Linked DNA regions of Homo sapiens: region 2 is linked to region 1. The links are contacts of gene promoters, found by promoter capture Hi-C in human tissues and cell types (Jung and others, 2019). All regions are on one chromosome and are shown on one strand. The core of a region is centred on a gene start or on the middle of the fragment in contact, and the rest is flanking DNA. Distances in the headings are between cores, read along the strand shown. Region 1 holds the start of PLBD2 (phospholipase B domain containing 2). Region 2 overlaps RBM19 (RNA binding motif protein 19).

Region 1 (6,900 bases), core at 4,063-6,562:
TGAGGCAGGCAGATCACTTGAGGTCAGGAGTTCAAGACCAGCCTGGCTAACATGATGAAACCTCATCTCTACCAAAAATACAAAATTAGTGGTGGGCACCTGTAATCCCAGCTACTTGGGAGGCTGAGGCAGGAGAATTGCTTGAACTCAGGAGGCGGAGGTTGCAGTGAGCCGAGATCGCACCACTGCACTTCAGCCTGGGCGACAGAGTGAGACTCCATCTCAAAAAAAAAAAAAAAAGAATTTAAGATTCAGTTGTCCTTCCTTCCTCCCTCTCTCCCTCCTTCCTTCTCTTCTTCCCTCCCTCCCTCCACTCCTCCCTCCCTCCCTCTCTCCCTCCTTCCTTCCCTTCTTTCCTCCCTCCCTCCCTCCACTCTTCCCTCCCTCCCTCTCTTCCTACCTTAGATTGAAGGTATGCAGTTGAAGAACTGTGTTAAAAAGTTACTTGGGGCCAGACGCAGTGGCTCACACCTGTAATCCCAGCCGAGATCAGTCTTAAAAAAAAAAAAAAGGTAGTTGGGTTACTTCTCCCCAGACCCCCATTCCTTTTAGTGTGCTTATGTTTATTTAAATACAGTCAGGATTATTTGTTTCTCTTTGTGTTCATCTTTAGGGGTTTTCTCCATTCTATTGAGTTGAATGGATTTTTTTGTTTGTTTGTTTTCAGAGACAGGGTCTCACTATGTTGCCCAGGCTGGTCTTGAACTCCTGGGCTCAAGTGATCCTCTCACCTCAGACTCCCAAAGTGCTGAGATTACAGGCATGAGCCACTGTGCCCAGCCTCTTCATTCTCTTTTTTTTTTTTTTTTTTTTTTGAGATGGAGTCTCACTCTGTCACCTGGGCTGGAGTGCATTGGTGTGATCTTGGCTCACTGCAACTTCCGCCTTCTGGGTTCAAGTGATCCTCCTGCCTCAGCCTCCCGAGTAGCTGGGACTACAGGCGCCTGCCACGATGCCTGGCTAATTTTTGTATTTTTAGTAGAAATGGGGTTTCCTCATATTGGCCAGGCTGATCTTGAACTCCTGACCTTGTAATCCACCCGCCTCGGCCTCCCAAAGTGCTGTGATTACAGGCGTGAGCCACTGCACCCGGCCTCATTCTTTTTTATAGCTGCATAGTATTCCATTTCCCAGCTGTTGTGTGGTTTATTTAATGAAGCTTCTATGTATGGGCTTGAAAGTGTTTCCAACAGTTTAAAATTACAAACAATGCTGCAATAAATAACCTTATGGATAAATACTTAGAGGTGGGATTGCTGGGTCAGAGGTAGATGCCCTTGGTGTTTTGTTAGACATTACTCTTCCTGTCTTTTGCATACCCACTAGCAACGTGCATGTGCCTGTTTCTCCAGGCTCACCAACAGGGTATGTTGTCAAGCTTCTAAACTTTTTTTTTTTAATCTCATAGAAAGAAATGATATCTCAGTGTAGTTTATTTAAAGTTTTTTTTTTTGTTTTTTTTTTTGAGAGGGAGTCTTGCTCTGTCACCCAGGCTGGAGTGCAGTGGTGCGATCTCAGCTCACTGCAACCTCCGCCCCCGGGGTTCAAGCGATTCTCCTACCTCAGCCTCCCGAGTAGCTGGGATTACAGGCATGCTGTAATTTTTTTTTGTATTTTTAGTAGAGACGGGGTTTCACCATCTTGGCCAGGCTGGTCTTGAACTCCTGACCTCATGATCCACCCGCCTCGGCCTCCCAAAGTGCTGGGATTACAGGCGTGAGCCACTGTGTCCGGCCCTAAAGTTTTTGTTTTTGAAAACATGTACTCTTTATCTAGTTTCTCCCAGTGATAACAACTTATGTAACCAGAGTATAAATATCAAAATCAGGAAATTGACTTTGATATGGAACTTTTTTTTTAACTTTTAAAAATTTTTTGAGACAGGGTCTCACTCTGTTACCTAGGCTGGAGTGCAGTGATACAATCTCAGCTCACTGCAACCTCCGCCTCCCAGGTTCAAGCAATTCTCGTGCCTCAGCCTCCCGAGTAGCTGAGATTACAGGCGTGTGCCACCATGCCCAGATAAATTTTTTTTGGATTTTTAGTAGAGATGGGGTTTCACCATCTTGCTCAGGCTGCTCTTGAACTCCTGAGCTCAAGCGATCCTCCCACCATGGCCTCCCAAAGTGCAGGGATTACAGGCATGAGCCCCCGAACCCGGCCTGATATGGTACTTTAAATTACAAATCCCAGCACTTTGGGAGGCCATGGTGGGAGGATCGCTTGAGCCCAGGAGTTTGAGACCAGTCAAGCAACAAAGTAAGACTCCATCTCTTCAAAAACTCAAAAAAATTAACCAGGTGTGGTGGTGCATGCCTGTAGCCCAGCTACCTAGGAGACTTAGGTGAGAGAATCACTTGAGCCTGAAAGATTGAGGCTACAGTGAGCTATGATTGCACCACTGCATCCCAGCCTGGACGACAAAGTGAGACCCTGTCTCAAACCCAAGAAAACAAAAATCAAAAAACTAAATTACAGACCTTATTTCAGCAGTCTTTACATGCACTCTATTTTCACTGTATATTTCTTACTTCTTCTCCTTCTCCTTCTTCTGGACAGAGTCTCACTCTGTCGCCCAGGCTGGAATGCAGTGGCATGATCTCGGTTCACTGCAACCTCCACCTCCCAGGTTCAAGCGAATTTCCTGCCTCAGCCTCCCCAGCAGCTGGGACCACAGGCACATGCCACCACCCGGCTAATTATTTTGTATTTTTAGTAGAGATGGGGTTTCACAATGTTGGTCAGGCTGGTCTTGAACCCCTGACCTCACGTGATCTGCCTGCCTCGGCTTCCCAAAGTGCTGGGATTACAGACATGAGCCACTGCACCTGGCCTCTTCTTTTTTGAATGGTTAAGTATAGAGTTTGTTTTCACCCGAAGATTGAGGTTGGGCACTTAGGAGCATCGCTTCATGTTACCCTGAATGTACCATTCAGGGTATACGCTCTCTCACCATATATTTCTCTGAATGTTTATTTTCAGTGTAGCTTTAATTTGCATTTCTCCTATAGTGAATGAAGCAAGCATTTTTCATAAATATAATGGTCACTTCTACATCTTTGTTCATGAATTATTTGCTGATGCTTTTTGCCCATGTTTTCTGTCTGGTTTTCACATTTTCCTTCTCAAACCTTTTCTTTCTTTCTTTCTTTCTTTCTTTCTTTCTTTCTTTCTTTCTTTCTTCCTTCCTTCCTTCCTTCCTTCCTTCCTTCCTTCCTTTCTTCCTTCCCTTCCTTCCCTTTCCCTCCCTCCCTCCCTTCCTTCCTTCCTTTTCTCTCTCTTTCTCTCTCTCTCTCTCTCTTTCCTTTTTGACAACTTCTTGCTCTGTTGCCCAGGCTGTAGTGCAACTCACTGTAGCCTCGACTTCCTAGGCTCAAGCAATCCTCCCCCCTCGGCCTCCCAGTAGCTGGGACTGAGGCAGAAATTAAAATAATAATAATAATAAGTACTACATATATTCACTCCAAGAGAAGTAAGAGCTAAGGCCCAGAATGTGGCAAGGCAAGGGTTAAAAAAGAAGAAGAACAAGTTTTCCTCTGCTTAGCAGCTCACTTCAAGGACAGTTATAAGATAACGCTGTCCGAAAAGCCAAGGCCAGAGGACTGGGCTCCAGACCCCGCCCTCCACCCCACCGCCCGCCTCCAGAGCAAGGTTGAAGGAAAAAAAAGAGAGAAAGACAAATTATTTTATTGCTATTCCTTTCCTTGGTCTCTTAAGCATGACTATGTTTTACAAACCTCTCTATTTAGCCAGTTCTTGTTTTACTTTTGATGCAGCTACAAGGCCACCAGCTATGCAAGGCCACAAGTTATGCACTATATGATTAACTACTTTTGTTTTACCTTTCTAAGCTTGCTTATAAAAACCCCACAATATCTTTGTTCTAGGCTCAGCTTTTTGGATGTGAATCCACTGAGCCAGTGCGTACGTTGAAATAAACATCCTCCTGTTCTCTCATATTGGTCTCTCCGTTCCTCAGTTTCCCACAACAGGACTACAGGTGTGCACCACCAAGCTCAGCTAATTTTTATATTTTATAGAGACAGAGTCTTGCCAGGTTTCCTAGGCTGGTCTCAAACTCCTGGGCTCAAGCATTCCTCCCACCTTGGCCACCCAAAGTGCTGTGATTACAGGCATGAACCACTCACCTGGCCTTCCCTCTCAAATTTTAAGAGTTCCTGATATATTATATGATATATGTTGAGATATATATACATATATATATGTAATGTATATATATGATATATGTTGCAAATAGTTTCTCCTGGTCTGTCAGATGTCTTTTGACTTTGCTTATTGAGTTTTTTGACATGAAAAAGTTAAAAAATTTATACAGTCAAATGCATTAATCTTTTATTGCATCTAGGTTTTTTTTTTTTTTTTTTTCTTTTGAGACAAGGTCTCATTCTGGTTGCTCAGGCTGGAGTGCAGTGGTGCAATCTCGACTCTCTGCAGCCTCGACCTTCCGGGCTCAGGTGATTTTCCTACCTCAGTCTCCCGAGTAGCTGGGACTATAGGCGCGCCTCACTGCGTCCGGCTACTTTTTTGTATTTTTAGTAGAGACGGGGGTTTCACCATGTTGCCCAGGCTGGTCTTGAACTCCTGAACTCGCCCGCCCTGGCCTCCTGGAGTGTTGGGATTACAGGCGTGAGCCACCGCGCCCGACGGCATCTAGGTTTTGAGTAGTAGTTAGACAGCTTTTTCCCACACACATGTAAAAAGGGTATTTGAGGGACAATGGGAAAAGTTGGAATAAAGACTGCATTAGATAACTGTATTAAATAAATGGCAAATACCATTAAATAAATCTGGCCGGGCGCGGTGGCTCACCCCTGTAATCCCAGCACTTTGGGAGGCTGAGGCAGGCGGATCACCTGAGGTCAGGAGTTCAAGACCAGCCTGGCCAACATGGCGAAACCCCGTCTGTACTGAAATTACATAAATCAGCTGGGCGTGGTGGTGCGCGCCTGTAATCCCACCTACTCAGGAGGATGAGGCAGGAGAATCGCTTGAACCCGGGAGGCGGAGGTGGCAATGAGCCGAGATCGCGTCACTGCACTCCAGTCTGGGCGACATATGGAGGTTTTGTCTTGTCTCAAAAAAAAAAAAAAAAAAAAACTTGGGGAAGTGTGCTAAACCGGGTTTGCGTAGGTGGAAGGGGCGGCCGGGCTCTTTAAGGTGGGTCCCGCCCCGTAGGCCTCCCCTCGCGCCAGCCCCTCCCATCCCGGAAAGGCTCAGCCCAAGCCCGGCCCCGCCCGCCCTCGGCCCCGCCCATGGCAGAGCGCAGTCACGTGACCCGGGCTGCGGGGCGCAGCATTGTGCGGTCATGGTGGGCCAGATGTACTGCTACCCCGGCAGCCACCTGGCCCGGGCGCTGACGCGGGCGCTGGCGCTGGCCCTGGTGCTGGCCCTGCTGGTCGGGCCGTTCCTGAGCGGCCTGGCGGGGGCGATCCCAGCGCCGGGGGGCCGCTGGGCGCGCGATGGGCAGGTCCCTCCAGCCTCCCGCAGCCGCTCGGTGCTCCTGGACGTCTCGGCGGGCCAGCTGCTTATGGTGGACGGACGCCACCCTGACGCCGTGGCCTGGGCCAACCTCACCAACGCCATCCGCGAGACTGGGTAAGGGTTGGCTTATCCCCACGCGGGGCCATCGGGGGAGGGGGATGCGTGGGCGCCGGACCTCGCCTGTTCCCGGGACCGGCCTCTTGCCGGGTGGGAACGCCCGTTTCTCTGGGGGTCAGCTACTCCCGAGGCTGCAGCACCGCCCTGCGGGCCAAGTACCCTGTTTGGGAGCTGGCTACTGCGGCATCCCTCACCTCATGGGGCCAGTCCCTTGCCTTCAGCCAGTGGTGACAGTACTTCTGTCCCCAAGAAGCCAGTTCCCTACCACCGAGGCCGCAGTGCCTGCATCTGGATCAGGTCCATGGCTGGTGGGTAAATTCTATCCTCACGGGGACCTGCTCCCTTCCCTAGACTTTGCCTCCTCACCCCATGGAGGCCAGCCCCCTGTCCCCAGGCCTGAGGGGTGATGAGAACTCAGCAGGAGACTAATTCTTACCTGCTTGGCTGTGGCTTGCTCGTGGGTGCCAGCACCCTGCCTCCCTTCCAGTGCCAGGTCAGCAGGACTGAACCTGGGTTCCAGGCTAGTCCAAAAGCAGAGGGTCCCTAAAGTCACATAGACCCATTTAGTATCCTGCTAGGGCTCTGCTCCTCCCTTGTCTTCTGTGTCCTGGTCCAAGGGGAAGTCCTTGGCTGGATGCCGTGTTTGGCAGCCATGCTCACCATCTTTATTGCTGGAACCCAGGCTGTCATTCTGATGTGTGAGTCTCACCTAACTCCTCCGCCTGTCTGGGCTCCCGTTTCCCCATCTGTGGCCCAGATTTTGAGGATGTGCTCTAGTTGGGTGGTCATGTGCTGCAAGTTCTGTACAAGGGCTTGTGCCCATTCATTTATTCATTACCCTGATGGTTGGCCTTAGGGACACAGCTGAGCAGCTGTCTCTACTCAGTGGGAAACACAGACAGCGATAGAAGAGAAATCAGAGTCAGTGGGAGTGGGAAGGATCAGCTTCAAAGCCTTGTCAGCAGGGCCCAGACGCTGGATCAGGCTGTGCTGGGGGATCCTAGGGAACCCGGGGTGCATCCGTCATATCCTAGTGTCCAGATGATGCTAGGGAACCCTAGCACTAGGATGTGCCCAGGATGTGGTCTGTGCTCAGACCACACTGCCCCCTGCAGCAGAAAGGGCCTCCTCCCACTTTAGCCCCTATCCATTTTACTGGCATCCATTGGCTTCTGCAGGTGTTAGGGAGACACAGGATGCCGAGGACACCCCCATTCTGGTGGCACTTGGGGGGTACATCAAGTAGACGTGAGATTTGGGGGAGATATTTGCACAGACACA
Region 2 (6,767 bases), core at 727-3,226, 590 kb after region 1:
CGAAGGAACGCTGTAACACAGAGAGAGCACATGGCCAGGGCTTCCTTACCCATGTACTCCCGGTTGCATTTCAGAGCTTGCTTCACTTCCTCTTCATTGCTGAAATCCACAAAGATGTATCCTGACAGAGGACAATGACAGAGGTAAAATCTGCAGGCCTTGCAGACACTTGTGGTGGTCCCCAGAGGAACACCCATACTGTGCTAGGAGCAGAAAGTGAGGGAGAAACCTCTACCTTGGTCAGATCTCCAAAATACAAAGGGTCTCCCTCTCTCTGTCTCCCACCCACAGCCAAATTTCCCTCTGCAGGGAGTGTACAGACCCCAGCCCGGTGTCATGGATGAAGATGCTGAATGCCAGGAGTTGGAAGCCCAGGAGGCCTTTCTGTCTCCCTCCAAGCCTCACCCCCATCCCCCGACTGGCACCTGCTCTAAGCCATTCTCTGGAGAAGGGCCTGTGGCTACAGCATGAGGACCCACCTAGGCGCTGGAAGCACCTTCTCCACACCCACTCTGCTCCTGGGCACCTGAGGCCTTGACTTGCACAAAAAAACAAGCAAATGGGGGAGTCTTTCCTCTAGCATGAGAGGCTCTGCTTCCTGACCTCTTTGGGCCTCAAACCTGTGAGGCAACAAGGTGAGGGGTGAGGACCATTCCCCTGCTTTTCTGGAGCATTAAAGAAATACTCCGAGGGGCACTCGGCTAATAGCTGGCAATGTCTAATACTTGGTCCAAAGCCCTTGGGTTTTCTGCCTTTAATCACAAGGCTGTTTAGATTCTTTCTGTGACTCCTCCATGCCCTCCTTTCCTATATCCAGGCACCTCATCCATCCCCATAAACATCTTCCGTCCTTTTCCCTCCCCCTCTCCATGGCCACACCCTAGGCCCCATCACCACTGATCCTCCCTTAGACGATGGCAAACGCCTGGCTCCAGGACCCATTCTTCACCTGCCAGGGACCATCCTAAATGTGATCACTGCCCTCCCCTGCTCTAAGCTCCCAGGGGCCCCTGCATCCAGACTGAAGCCCACAATCTTTTTCTTTTTGAGATTGGGTCTTGCTATGTTGTCCAGGCTGGATTTGAACTCCTAGGCTCAAGTAATCCTCCTACTTCAGCCTCCTGAGTAGCTGAGACACACAATCTTTAATGAGGCCCCTAAAGCTTAAGGGGCCCAGCCTGCCTCCTCCCCAGCTCTCCTGCAGGGGACATTCAGCTGCTTTTCAACATTTCATGCTTGGATGCCGGCTCTCTCCAACTCTGGGGCCTCCAATATGGTTTTCTCTTGGGTCTGACAACTCAGATATGTTTCTTCCTGCTCCCTCCCTGGTCTGTGAAGTGCCATAAAACCAAGGGTACCAGCACCATCACCACCACCATCATGAATATTAACAGCAGCTTTCATGGAGTGTGCAACAGGGGCTCAGCACTGCTCTAAATGCTGTACACAGAGCCATTCATGCAACTTGGTGAGACAGGTTTACCTGACTGCACACACACACACAAACACACACACACTCACACACACAAACAAACTGAGGCTAAGTCCCTTGTCCAAGGTCATAGGGCTCCTACCTGAGATCTGCACTTAGGCAGAGCCCTTTACCCTGACCTCATCCTGCCCTGTAATCAGTCTGCAAGGAGAAGGATGGGTGGCTGAATGGATCAGCTGGGTAAGTGGGACTTCCGTGATAAGAGGAGAGTTGGGGAAGAAATGCAGAAACATGACAGTGAGGAGACCATCCCTCAAGCACACTTTCTTCCCCAGATGTCAGCCTAGGTAGATCTCAACTGCTCTACCCAGGCCAGTGTCTTCTTGCCAAAGACAGAGTACACATCCAGCGGCTTCCAGCCTCCAGCCTCCCCGCAGCTACAGGGCCTCAGTGTGGTTCTCTTGAGAAGTAGCAAGTCAGCTGCTGAATCTCCCAGTGTCCTGGCCAGCAAGAAGTAGGCACGGACAGGTGCCCACCTCCCCGAGCTCAGACACTCTGCCTTCCAGCCACACTGCTCATCTCAGGATGACCAGAACCCAGGGCTCTGAAGCCAAGGGAGGTGCCTGGTTGGTTGCCCAGAGTATAAACCTGCAGGGAGGGTGGCACGGGGCAACACCACACATGCTCAGCAACTCAGAGCCCTGCCCACCAGCAGAGCTGCCTGTGGACTTGGCCTAGCAAACCCCAGGACCTGTTGGCATTTGTTTCAGCGTAATAGGTGAGCCCACTGAGATAGGCAAAGGCTAAGATGAGGAAGGGAAGGATGAAAAGCACAGGTGAGAACTCCATCCCTATACACTAGGCCACCAAAGGCTGGGGCAAGAGATGCAGCCTTAACCTGCCCAGGCTGACCACATCCACACAACTGAGGACCACAAACAGGAAGAAAAACGGGTGCCCTTAAAACTTCTTCCTTATTCAAGTACCCCAACCTTCAATCTTCACTGTCTACCCGCCTTCCCACCTGGAAACATCCTGGATCTTACCTGTTTTATTCCCATGAGCGTTTCTCACAATTCGAATGGCCACTGGTTTCAGGGGTGCCAGGAATTCCATAACATTTTTCTGTGAGAAGAAGTTTTTTTCCCCTTACCAACCACATAATAAAAGTACAACCCAACGAAAAGACATGGGGCAAATTTCTAAATCAGAAAGGATTACAAAGTGTTTCATTCTTTAGTTTTTCTCTTTCCTTATACGTATCGCTTCTCCAATTACCTTGGAGAAAATGTGAAAAAGAAAATTGGAGGAGAAATGAGTAATATAAATATAAAATAGCAGTGTCACTATCAGCGTTAAAATAGCGATGTCACGATCCGCATTTCAAGGCACTGTTTCCCCCCTAGATAATTGTATATACTTGGGATTAAACCTGGCTTTTTTCACTTCTCATTAAGCTTGAGTATTTGGTTTTTGTGTATTAGTTTTGCAAGTAGCCACCTAGTGGTTTTGGTTTTGTTAATTAAAGCATGTGATTTTCTGAATGGTTGATACTGAAAGAATTCTGACAAAATTACAAGCAACTCAGTGAGTTTAATAAAACCTACATGCTTGCTACTCTGAAGTTTGATAAGTTGTAATTCAGATATTTATAAACATAGAGTACCAGAACAGATAAAGACTTCAAGAGAAAAAAGGGCAAAAGACATGATCGGGCACTTTCCAAAAGAGAAGATATATTGGCCAGGTGCGGTGGCTCACGCCTGTAATCCCAGCACTTTGGGAGTCCAAGGCGGGTGATCACCCGAGGTCAGGAGTTCGAGACCAGCCTGGCCAACATGGTGAAACGCTGTCTCTACTAAAAATACAAAAATTAGCTGGACATGGTGACAGGTGCCTGTAATCCCAGCTACCCGAGAGGCTGAGGCAGGAGAATCACTTGAACCCGGGAGGCGGAGGTTGCAGTGAGCTGAGATTGCACCATTGTACTCCAGCCTGGGAGATAAGAGCGAAACTCTGTCTCAAAACAACAATGACAACAAGATATACACGATCTACAAATGTGAGAGAGTATGATCCATCTTACAAGTAATTTAAAATATAAATTAACATGAGATGCCAATTTTACCTATCACATTGATGAAACATTAATAATACCCAGGGTTCAGGAAAATGGGCACTTGTAGACTCTGCTACAGCGAGCATAAACTAGCAATGCTCCCAGAGGGCAACTGATATTATGTGCCAAAGCCTTAGAATTGTACACACATTTGCCTACACAGAATATTTATCTGGAGCAAAGATCAGCAAACTATGGCCCACGGGCCAAATATCACCATGGTCTGCTTTTGAATGGCTTGCAAGCTAAAAATGGTTTTTACATTTTAAAGGATTACCAAAAAAAGAGAAAACAACGAATATGTGACAGAGATTAAATGGCTTACAAAGCCTGACATATTTACCATCTGGCCTTTACAGACGAAGTCTGCTCACCCCTAATCCCAAGGAACTGAATTATTATTTATAACAGCAAAAAATTGGATATAACTCCCACGTCCCAATTTAGGGGACTGAGTAAACCTACAGAAGTTTACCCTGAGTAAGGAAGAGCATGAGCATAAAAAATGCTGCTGTAGCAGAGTATATTCAATATTCAAAGAGGTCTATAACATACCATGATGAGGAGGAAAAAGGGGTTTCCAAAGAGTTCCCAGTAAATGATTGCTTCTTAGACATACAAAGACAAAAACGTCCAAGAAGAGGCTTCAGTGAGCTATGATGGCAGCACTGTACTACAGCCTGGGCAACACAGTGAGACCCTGTCTCACACACACACACAAAAATAATAATAATAAAAACTAAAAACAAAGGAAAACAAAACAAAAACCATCTAAGAAGACACACCCAAAATGTATCAGTGGACGTCACTGGGTAGATACAAGTGTGTTGGCCAGGGCAGCCCTAGTTTGCCTGGGATGAGTTGTCACTGTATTTGGAGTCGTTAGACCTGCGGTAATTACATCCACAGCCTGGCACCCCATTGGGGTAGCACCCCTCTCACTCTCAATTTAGTGTAGATGATAATTTAGTAGTCATCCTACTTACAGGCAATTTTTAAATATTTTTTATTTAGCTACATGGTTTTGAGTTTTCTATATTGAACTACTACTTTCACGAAGAACGAAAATTAAGTGTTCTTCTGCTGTTACAGACCCAAAGGCAGCAAACTACAGTCCACAGGCCAAATCTGGCTCACTGCCTGTTTTTGTAACTAAAGTTTTATTTATTTTTACCTACTTTCTGAGACTGCTTCCTTGCTATAAGAGCAGGGTGAGTAGTCACAACAGAGACCGTGTTGATCACGAAGTCTTAAATATTAACTGGCTGACTGCCCCCACAACCTTTTCTTTAACAGAGTGTGTGCCCACCCTGGTGTGGGTACTGGTGAGTGAAACCAGAACCTCCTTTGTCTTGGTGTAGCCATGCCTGTTTCCTGACCCTGACGATGCCGGAGATGTTATTTCTCAGCCTTTTTGGCCCCCAATTCCTTCCAGCTCATGTCCTCAACCGACTCTAATGCCCCCATGCACCAAAGGCTCCTGGCCTCCCCACCCTCGTCTCCTGCTCCCGCAGGCTGCCGACCCTTGTCCTCAGTTAGCACATACCTCTGTGACATTGAACGGGGCTCCCCGCAGCTTCACGGTGTGGCAGGTGGTGGGTTCCTTCTGGTTTGCTGGTTTCTCTGTCTGAGTGATCACAAAAACAAACAGAAGTGGCCACACTAACCCTTCGTACAGCTGCAGGAGGTGGCACACTGGGACATTTCAGTGCCAGAGAAGGTGCCTGCCGCCAGGGGGAGCTGGGGAATGCTGGGAAGAATCAATGTCCACCGTGTATGGAGTCTGGCCAGAGGTGGGGCTAGGTGATGCCAAGTCTCCATGTGCCCCTGAGACGAGGGCTGGAACCAGAGCCTGGCAAGCTATGGGCACCTGGACAGGGACCCTGGGGCTACAAGGAGGGGCAGGGTGGGAATGTGAAGGAGCCCTGAAGAACGGGGTGTCAGTACCACTATGTAGGGCTTATCAGTGCCAGACACTAAGCCAAGCACTTTACAGATGCCAGTGATCTACTACATCTTCACAACAATCCCATGGGGATTATGGGTTCAGGATCCTTTTTCCCACAACTCCGGAATCCAGACACCTCTGAAAAAACCTAAGTTTCTGGTAACCTTTATGGCAACAAAACCTGCCCCGACTTGAATGCACTTCCCAGCAAAGCCTGCCCTGAGTGGATGTGAGCCCATATATAGCTTATGCTGATTCACGCAGCGCAAGCAGTCTTGTCCATGCGTTGCAGAAATGTGACTGCGCTTGACCGTGGGGTGCTGCCTTTTATCCTGTATTTAGTAACAAGGTAGGCAGAGGGGAGTGAGCCCTGCTGGGGGTGCTGCATTCCAGAGGGTTCTCTTCCTGAAACCTGAAGATTCCAGAATTCCAGCATATACTTAGGCACGGGGTCAGAAACCGGAGGCAGGGAGCAGTGCTACCATGAGTGCCTTTTTGTAAACGAAAATTCAGAGGCTGAAGGAAGTAAAGTATCTCACCCAAGGACCAACAGCCACTAAATGATGGAACTAGGATTTGAACTCATAATTCTGACTTCCCCACACTCTACTACCTCACTGAAATATACAATTTTGGGGGGGAAGAAAAGGACAGAGTGCATAATTAGAAGAGGCAGAAAATAAAAGGAGGGAGGAAGAAGAAAGGGAAAAGAGGAAAGAAAAGAGGATGAAGCTTGCTTTCATCTCATTTGAAAATACAGGGCTGGGGCCAGGTGCAGTGGCTCAGGCCTGTAATCCCAGCAATTTGGGAGGCTGAGGTGGGTTGATCACTTGAGGCCAGGAGCTCAAGATCAGCCTGGACAATATGGTGAAACTCCATCTCTACTAAAAATACAAAAATTAGCTGGGTGTGGTGGTGTGTGCCTGTAATCCCAGCTACTCGGGAGGCTGAGGCATGAGAATCACTTGAACCCGGGAGGCAGAGGCTGCAGTGAGCTGAGATCACACCACTGCACTCCAGCCTGGGCGACAGCAAGACTGTCTCAAAAAAAAAAAAAAAAAAAAAAAATACAGGGCTAGGCAGGGAGAGAAGTGATGCTTCACAGAGAAAGGAGGGAACAGGGACCTGGACAACATGTCAAACTGCTCTGTCTCTGATGCAGAGAGGACTCCCAGGTCAGAGACGAGTTGGCCGACCTCTGGGGAAGCGCCCACGTTTATGATCTCGACTTCAGACCCCACAGACCTGGGGCTAAGTCCTGAACCCAC

Evidence for each region. The method cuts DNA at HindIII sites, captures the fragments that hold promoters and counts their contacts. A contact is called where the count stands out against the background at its distance.
Region 2: a contact is called between a fragment that was not itself captured here and the fragment with the promoter of PLBD2 in region 1, in 1 of the 25 tissues and cell types used here (hippocampus).

Annotation. Positions count from the first base shown.
Region 1 is chr12:113,353,275-113,360,174 of GRCh38, forward strand. PLBD2 (phospholipase B domain containing 2) reads left to right here and starts at 5,313. Exons shown (of 12, transcript NM_173542.4): 1 at 5,313-5,616. The coding sequence starts at 5,327. LOC105369989 (a long non-coding RNA gene) reads right to left here and starts at 6,236. Exons shown (of 3, transcript XR_945346.3): 1 at 6,056-6,236; 2 at 401-494; 3 at 183-221. RefSeq lists silencers at 5,127-5,626, 5,677-5,736 and an enhancer at 6,072-6,571. The HindIII fragment of the contact is 12,918 bases long and covers 2,615-6,900 here.
Region 2 is chr12:113,950,034-113,956,800 of GRCh38, forward strand. RBM19 (RNA binding motif protein 19) reads right to left here. Exons shown (of 24, transcript NM_016196.4): 7 at 5,098-5,178; 8 at 2,479-2,557; 9 at 50-121. Among named protein-coding and RNA genes, the nearest start is that of RBM19, 13 kb to the right of the region's middle. The HindIII fragment of the contact is 5,168 bases long and covers 1-4,560 here.